Regions from separate parts of the Homo sapiens genome. Here region 1 is linked to region 2. Evidence: promoter capture Hi-C in 16 types of primary human blood cells and fetal thymus (Javierre and others, 2016). All regions are on one chromosome and are shown on one strand. Each heading gives the region's core, a stretch centred on a gene start or on the middle of the fragment in contact. The rest is flanking DNA. Distances are from core to core; before and after follow the strand shown.

Region 1 (3,751 bases), core at 531-3,030, 1.2 Mb after region 2:
AAGCCCACCACCAGGTGTGCCCGCCAGGGCTCTACCCTCCTACCACCTCCAAGCCCACCACCAGGTGTGCCCGCCAGGGCTCTACCCTCCTACCGCCTCCAAGCTCACCACCAGGTGTGCCCACCAGGGCTCTACCCTCCTACAGCCATCCAGCAAACATTTTAAGGTGTCTCTTGCCCTTTGAGGTCCATAGAACACTTTCAAATATTGGATGTTTCGTGGCAACCTAAGAGGATAAGAAGGTGGGCTCCAGTGGTGAAAAAGCAAGATTTGGAAAACGGAGACCCCCTCGCCCAGGGGTAGCAGTGCCTAGGCCACCTGCAGCATTGACATCAGCAAACTGCCAGGGAGGAGAGTGGAGGCTGCAGAACAGTCAGGTGCAGGCAGGGGCCCAGGGAGGAGGCGAGACCTGAGCAGGGGTGGAGCAGAGGGATGGCCGGTGGTGGGGAAGGAGGATGGGGATGGAGGAGGAGGAGGGTCAGACATGGCGCCCAGTGCCTGGCCTGGGCAGCTAAAACGGCAGCCCCAGGGGAGATGGGAGGCTCAGCCTGCGGTGAACTGAGGGGCCCGGGGCTTCCTCGGGGGATGCCAAGGCTGAGGATGCATGGGGGTTGCAGGAGGGCACAGGCAGAGGCTCAGATGAGAGAGTCGGGGTCGTGGAGATACCAGGAGCCATCAGAATTTGAGTTGACCCAGAGAGAGGCACAGAAAGAGCGGAGGCAGCCGGGACAGGCCCCGAACACACACGGCCAAGAGGAGGCCTGGGAGGGGCATTCAGAGGGAAGGGGCCTCAGAAATGGGGCAGAAAGGAAGGTTCTAGACAGCAAAGGGGCACAGGGTCAGGTGCGGCAGGGAAGGGAGGTGTGGGTACAAATGCGGTCCCCTAAACAGGTTGAGATCCTCACCCCCAGCACCTGTGAGTATGACTTTAAAACCTCACCCGACGGAATCCAGGAGGTGGGAGAGTGTTCTGGAAACAGCAACATCCCCCACAAACGAAGCTTCAGTGACTTCCTTGGGGCCCCTAAGTTCTGAAGGCTCTGGATGTCTGAGACTGGGTCCCAGCCACAGCAGCCTCTCCCGATCCTAAGGCACTGCTAGAGGACCCCTTGGTGATGCCCCATTTCCCTTCCCCGCCCGACTTACGCTCCCAGGACCAGCAACAACAGCTAGAGTGAGGTATATTCCTAGAGCTCTGTCGTTTAACCCTCACGGTGGCCGAGTGGGCAGGTGTGATGATTTGCGCATCTCCCAGGGAGGAAACCCACACATATCAGGGGAACCACAACTTCTCCCAGCTCAGAGAGACAGAGCTGAGCCCTCACCTGCTGGCTGTCAGGTCAGGCCAGCCTCCCACTCCATGACACAGAACGGACCTGAGGGGACCCCTCGGTGAGGCAGGCCTGGGCTCCAGTGCCGGCCCTCTCCCGCTGTGTGGCCTCGGGGAAGCCTCTTCCCCTGTCTGAGCCTCTGCATTCTCATCTGTAGAATGGGGATGCTCTGTCCTGCCTTCCAGAGCGTTGCTGATATCAGAATCCAGGTGTGGAACTTGGGCAGCAGAGTAGCGCCGGTGCCCTCCAGGCCAGCCCATTCTGTCCAGGCTCCAGTTCGGCAGTGGACTCCTCCTGCCCTGACCCTCACCCTCCATCCGCCTGTTTCCCGGGGTACGCTAGTCACCACGCTAAGGATGCCCTGGGGCCAGATACCCTTATGCCCCACCTCCAAGCCCACCAGGTGTGCCTGCCAGTGCTTCACCCTCCTGGGGCTCCACAGGCATCTGGCACCTTGAACCCAGCAGGGCCCCTGGAGACAAAACCCTCATCTACCTTTCACTTAAGCAGGGCCAGAGAGAGGCAGCCTCCTTTCCTTTGCTTTTCAACTGCTCCCAAACCAGCCCCGAAGCAGCCTGCCATGAGGCCCAGACAGCCTGTCCCATCCCAGCCCAGGCAGGATTAATATGCATGTATGGTAATCAGCGAAGCCCAGCAATTTGCATAACAATCAGAGGGAGTGTCCCCTCTCCTGGACTGCTTCCAAGGGCAGCTCCCACCCTGGTTCCCCACAAGACAGCAGGGGAGGGTATGATGGGGCCCCTGGACCCCCCAAGTGCTAGACCGGTGGCCTGGCTTTCAGCCCTGGAGGCTTCAGCCTGGAGAGGGCGGGATAGGTGGGGTACGGGGGTCCTTGGGCAGGGGAAGATACCAGTGAGACACTCATCTGACTGTCTCCAGAACTGTTTCCCGCATTCTTGAGGCCATGCTGGGGAAGCAGGAGAGAAACAAGGGTGTGGCCTCTCCTGGGCCTGCGTCCTGGGGAGGTGTGGAGTTGGGGGGCTCCGGGAAGGGACTCTGCTCGCCTCATCGAGGGGGCCTCTCCTGGGCCTGCATCCTGGGGAGGTGTGGAGTTGGGGGCTCTGGGCAGGGACTCTGCTTGCCTCATTGAGGGAGCCTCTCTTGAGCCTGAAAAATTGGGAAGGTGCCAGGACTCCCTTATAAGGTCGTTTGCCCTTAAGGAGATGGAGGAGAGTGTGTTCTGGAAGCAGCACCGTCCCCCATAAATGAAGCTTCTTATGACTCGGCTGCTTGGCCAACCTCACGGAGCCCCTTCCTTGGGCCCCTGGGGACACAGAGATGCCTGGGCATGGCCCCATCCCTTCTTAAGGGCTCGGCAGAGAGCAGCCAGGCCCTGCAGATCACCCTCATGCACGGGCCAGTCCAAGGTTTCCAGCATCTTGGTAGCTCTGCAGGCAGCGCCCTTCCCCGAGGGGGTCTTAGGCTGTCCCTCCGAACAGATCCCCACTTGCAGGAGGCTGGGCTCTGCTCTCCAAATGCTTGTCCATAATAATGAAACCCTTGCACATCTGCCCAGCACCTAGGAGCTGTCCAGAGTACCACCACATCCCGACCCCTATCACCCCGTGACGGCCCCTCAGTGGGCACTGGAACAGTGGAGCTCAAAGAGGAAGGATCTGGTGCCACCACGCCCCACCCCAGATCAGAGGTAGGAAAACCCAGGACTCAAGAGAGCTGGTCCAGGCCCTGCCCACCATGTCCATCACCCAGCCATCCATGGGCACAGTATGAGCTGGCCCAGGCCCTGCCCACCACGCCCATCACCCAGCCACCCACTGGCACAGTGCCCAACCACTCTTCTCCCCCGCCCCCTGCCTACTCTACTCAGTGACCAGATGAATCTTCTAGCTCCTCCTCTGCCCTGACCTCAGGTGACAAGCTGTGGCTTGCTGGGGAAGCCCAGTGGCTCACCGGGCACCAAAGCCCTCCCTGCAGGTGAGGACCAAGGAGCCCACCCAGCTGGTGCGGAGGCAGGAGGGACACGTCTGCCCTGCACTCTGAATCATGCAGGCATTTGATCCTTAATAACAATATGAGGAGGAGCTGTATCAAGTCTCAGGGTTTTTATGGGCCAAAAGTGATCCCACATTGGCAATTTCGTATAGTTCAATGTGATCATAATTATTAAGGTGTTAGGAGCCCTCTTAACAGAGCAGGCATCGTTCCAAGTTCTTTACACGTGTTTACTTCACCAGCATTTCTGACAGCCGTATCAGACGGCCCATGATGAGGACATAGAGCTCAGAGAAGTGAAGTAACTAACTCAATATCACACCTCTCCCACACACCTAACAGAATGGCTAAAATGAAAAATAATGACACCAGACACTCACAAGGATGTGAAGAACCCGGATCATGATATGCTGCTGCTATGGATGTCTTGGGACAGACACACTGGA
Region 2 (4,260 bases), core at 1,677-4,176:
TCGGGCACACTCTGGTGTAACCTGCTTCGCTCGTTCGCGGGATGGGTGGTGAGCATGGAGCCCATTTTCCCATGTGGCATTTCAGCAACAGGACTTGGCTATTTGAAACTCCCCAGACATAGCAGGATTTAAAAAACGGATCCCCTCTGGCTGGGCATTTAGGTTGCTTTCACTTCTGGGCTGCTATAAACAGCCTGCAGTTACTGCCTCAGGACGCCTTTCTGGAAGGTGAGTTTCTTGGCCAGGGGATATCGCACATGCACTTTGGAGCCTCTGAGCCTTTGCACAGGCTGGTCCCTTTGCCTGGCTGCCCCTCTCCCATTTATCCCTAGATTCTTCTGCAGCACACACACTGCCTCCTCTGAAGTGTCCTGGCTGCATGTGCTGCTCTCCTTGCCCTGGGCTGCCCTCTTCTCCCTGGTGTCATGAGTATCTGCTGACCTTCTGCTTCTCCCATGACAGAGTGCCTTCCTTCTCTTCCTTCTCTGCCTTGGCCTCCAGCACGTAGTAGGCGCCTAGGAAATGTTTTCCAGCAGAACGAGCCATCTCCTGGCTGGTTTAGCAGTGTGGGATTGTGTGGTGTTTCTATTAGTCTCCATGAACAAGTGCCACTGTGTTATTAAATTTTTCCAAAAGCAGAATGTGTGCTGTGTTTGCCAGAATGGTTGCTCTTTTAGGAGTGGGTCTATCCTGCCCATCCCACACTCCTCATTCCCTCATCTTTTAGGGACCATTCCCTGGGCACCTACAGAGTGCCAGGCCCTGTGGGATGCAGCACTAGGCGCTGGGGAGGCTGACCTCTGGGATGCAGCCTGGCCCAGGGGAGGCATGAGGGCTACATAAGACAGTGTGGGTCAAGCTGAGAGCTCTGCGCCTGGGACTGGGTGGTGCAGGTAGCACCAGGTCCCTCTGGTGGAGAGCTCATGCTTGGCTTCAAAGCAAGTGCCGAGTGCCAGGAATATGGTAGATGCTCAATAAATGTGTACCCTGGGAAGGTAAGAGATGATGCTCTGGGACTTGAGGGTAGTTCTGGTAGGACTGGAGGTGGTGGGGAAGCTGGCCTTGGAGGACAAGTGTCACAGGAACCTCTGCTCTCGACCCAGGGACCAGGAAGGCACATTTGTCACTGTCCTTTGTGATCTCCAGAGGCCACAGCCAAGCTGTGGCTTTGTCCCAGGCAGGCGGCAGGTGGGGTCTGCTGAGACACTGAGTCCAAGCCGCCTTCCCAGGCAGGCATGACAGTTTTCTCCTTCACCTCCCTCGAAGTCACGGTGCTCAGGAAGCCTGTAGCCTAGGAGGAGAAAGAGGCTCCCGGGTTGAGTTTGGGATTCCCTGAGAGAGAATTGGGGTCTAAAGACAAGGAAGCAGGAGGGGGTGACTGCCTCAGGACTCCTCGGCCAGCCCTTGCCCCCCATCTCTGGCCTGAGGGCCCCAGGCCTCCATCCTCTCCCTCCATAGCCCAGCCTCTCCCCCTCTACCTCTGTCTTTAGAGGTGCCAGAACAAGCTGTAAAAAGATAAACGTGACCAAGTCACAGCCCTGCTTAAAAACCCTCTATGGCTCCCACTGCCCCTGATAAAGTCTATCCAAGGCTCTTCCCGATCTGGCTTCTGTTCCCTCACTCCCAGCCTTGCCACCTCATCTTCCCTCCCTTGCTTTTCCTTTGTCTCTAGCCCCAATGAACTCACATGCCAAGGCCTTTGCATGCCGCATTCCCTCGGCCTGGATGTCTTTTCCAGGCCTTCTCTCCTGGCATACACTCATTCAACTGGGCTGTCCCCACCTCCAGGAAGCCACACCAGATAGCAGTCCTCAGGGGCAGAATAGGCCTGAGGGGCCCGCAGAGGGTGTCCTTGGGGATTGTGTGATGTGTGTGTTGGTGAAGGGAGACCCTACAAGCATTTGTTGAGGGGCTTTGGGCCTCTGAGGAGCCACAGCCCCTTTTCATCTTCCTCTCAGTCTGGGAGGCCCAGGCCAGAGTGATCTGCACCCTAACTATACAAGGCCCTGGAATCCCCGTCCCACCCGCGGCAAGGGGCTGGAAGCCACAGGGCCTTAAACTCCCCAGGGTGACCCCCGACACTGAAGGCGATGGTCTCTGCTCTTCCCAGCAAGGCAGGGCCTCTTTACACTGGGTGTCGCGCCGTCTGAGTTCCTGACTTGTTTACCCATCCCGTTGGGGCTCCGGCCGCTGCAGGCTACCTGCTGTGCCCGGGATTGGGGACCTGTGACTCCCGAGTGGAAGAGATGGTGGCCCAGGAGGAGGACCCCGACCTATTCAGACTGGGAGCTGGGGTCAGAGTGTCTCCGTCTCCGGAGGGGGACCTTCCAGACCCCGGGCGGGAGGGGCCCACAGCAGGGTGCCCCGGCGGCCCCAGGAGGGGGTCCGGGCCTCGGGCGAAGGCTGCGGCGCCCCGGAAGGAGCCGCGCACGCCCCTGCACGCGGTGCCCGCTGCGGAGGCCACGGATCCGGAGGTGAGAGCGCCCCCGCCCCGCTCCCTGCCCAGCCCGCGCGCGGCCCGGTCCGGGGCTGGGGGCGGGCGCCAAGAGGGGCGCCGGGCGCAGTGGGGCGGCCCCCTCCCTTTTCCGCAGCGCGGGCCCCGCTCCTCCTCCCGCGTCCAGGCCCGCGGCCGCGCTCCCTGTCCCTCCGCAGCGGGATGCGGACTCCGAGCCCGGGCGGGGGCCGAGGGCCGAGGCCTGGCGGGCCTGGCGGGGGCCCCGGCGGGTGGCGGCGCAAGGGCCGGGACCGAGGCCGCGAGCGCGCCCCTCCCGGCGGCCGGGCGCGGAGAGGCGGGGAGGGCGGGCGTGGGGAGGCGGGCGGCGGCGGGCGGGGGGAGCCAAGGAGGCTCGGAGCCTCGCGGCGCGCGGGCGGGCGGCGGAGGGGGCGCGGGGAGCCCCCCGCCCCACGAAGGAGGAGTCTGGCTCCCACTTGCAGCCTCGGACGCGCGGCGAGGCGGCCGCCGCCGGAGGAGCCCCCGCCCCTGCGCGCCTCCCTCCCGGGAGCCCCTGCCTCCCTCGGTGCGCGCTGCTGCTCGCAGCCGCCGCGGCCGCCGAAGAGGAGCCCGGGGCCAGGTAGGACCGGAGGCGGGCGGGGCGCGGCGGGCGCGGGCGGGAGGCCGGGCGCGGGGCGCGGCCGGGACCCTCTCCAGGCGCTGGGCGACGCCCGCGGCGCTGCGCAGGGGCGCCCGCAAAGTTACTTTGGCCGCCTTTGCCGGGTGCGGGAAGCGGGCTGGGCACCCCAGCTGCCCCGCCTGCCTAGCGGGCGGCGGCGGGAGGGGGCTCCGCCAGGGCGCGGGACTCCGGCTGGGGCCGCGGGGTCAGCGAAACTTTTCCCTTGCTCGCCAGTCGCTGCTGCTGCTGGCGGAGTAGCTGGTGGAAGCAGCGGGCTGGTGGAGTGCCAGTGATGATGATAGTGGTAACAATAGCAGCCCCCGCTTGTAGAGAGCCTACTGTGTGCGCTGCCAAGCCCCTGCTGGCACTTGGGGGGGAAGAGATAGGGAACGAACGCTGGCCGAGTGGCCACTTTTGCTAGGTATTGCTGGAAACTTCATCCATTTCCTTCCATCCATTCATCCCTCCCTCCCATCCATCCATCCATCCATCCATCCATCCATCCACTCACTCAACACATATTTATTCCTGTCTGCTATGTGCTCGGCCAGGGGATTCAGTGGCTACCTAGACAGGTCCCAGCCCTCAAAGGGAATGTTGATCATGGAATGCCCAAACTAAGGAGCAGTTCTGTCTCCTGTGTGTTTGTTCTGGGACATGTTACGGGAGCGTGAATTCATGCTGTCTCCCTTCACCCTGGCAGGGCCAGAGGCGTGTCATTCAGAGCACTGATGTGCCCAGGAGTCTGGCAGGCCCCGGCCTGGCCTTCGGAACTCACCCTGCTCCTTTCCCTCCCACCTCTCCGGGCTCAAGCTGGGTGGCCCAGTTGGTGTCAGGAGGCTCCACTCCGGAACTGGCCCCCACCCCTGTCCAGCTGACCTCTCTGGGATGTCTCTTCCCCAGTGCTGGGCTGGCCTGGCTCCCAGCTCCCCTCCCAGAGTTTCTTTGCCTTCCCCCTCCCCATTTCCCCTGCTCTATTGAATGGCCCAGAGGAGAGCTTGTTAAGTGGCAAACAATTATGAAATTAAACTGGGGGAACAAAAGTGGGCTGGCTGTTGAATGGCGGAGCTGGCTCACGGGAGTTGAATGGCACTGGGAGACTTGTTAGCAGGGATCTGCGGCGCCGGGGGGCGGGGGCGGGTCAGGCAGA

Evidence for each region. Contacts are between HindIII fragments. The CHiCAGO score rates a contact against its expected background, and 5 or more counts as called.
Region 1: a fragment that was not itself captured here is called in contact with the fragment with the promoter of MPPED1 in region 2 in 1 of 17 cell types (neutrophils); the score reaches 7.4 in neutrophils.

What each region holds. Positions count from the first base shown.
Region 1 is chr22:44,606,823-44,610,573 of GRCh38, forward strand. LINC00229 (long intergenic non-protein coding RNA 229) reads right to left here. Exons shown (of 5, transcript NR_044991.1): 4 at 109-226. Among named protein-coding and RNA genes, the nearest start is that of LINC00229, 17 kb to the right of the region's middle. RefSeq lists an enhancer at 381-1,086. The HindIII fragment of the contact is 1,562 bases long and covers 1,000-2,561 here.
Region 2 is chr22:43,409,088-43,413,347 of GRCh38, forward strand. MPPED1 (metallophosphoesterase domain containing 1) reads left to right here and starts at 2,927. Exons shown (of 7, transcript NM_001044370.2): 1 at 2,927-3,071. It overlaps LINC01639 (long intergenic non-protein coding RNA 1639), which reads left to right. Exons shown (of 4, transcript NR_146918.1): 4 at 1-594. The HindIII fragment of the contact is 9,110 bases long and covers 1-4,260 here.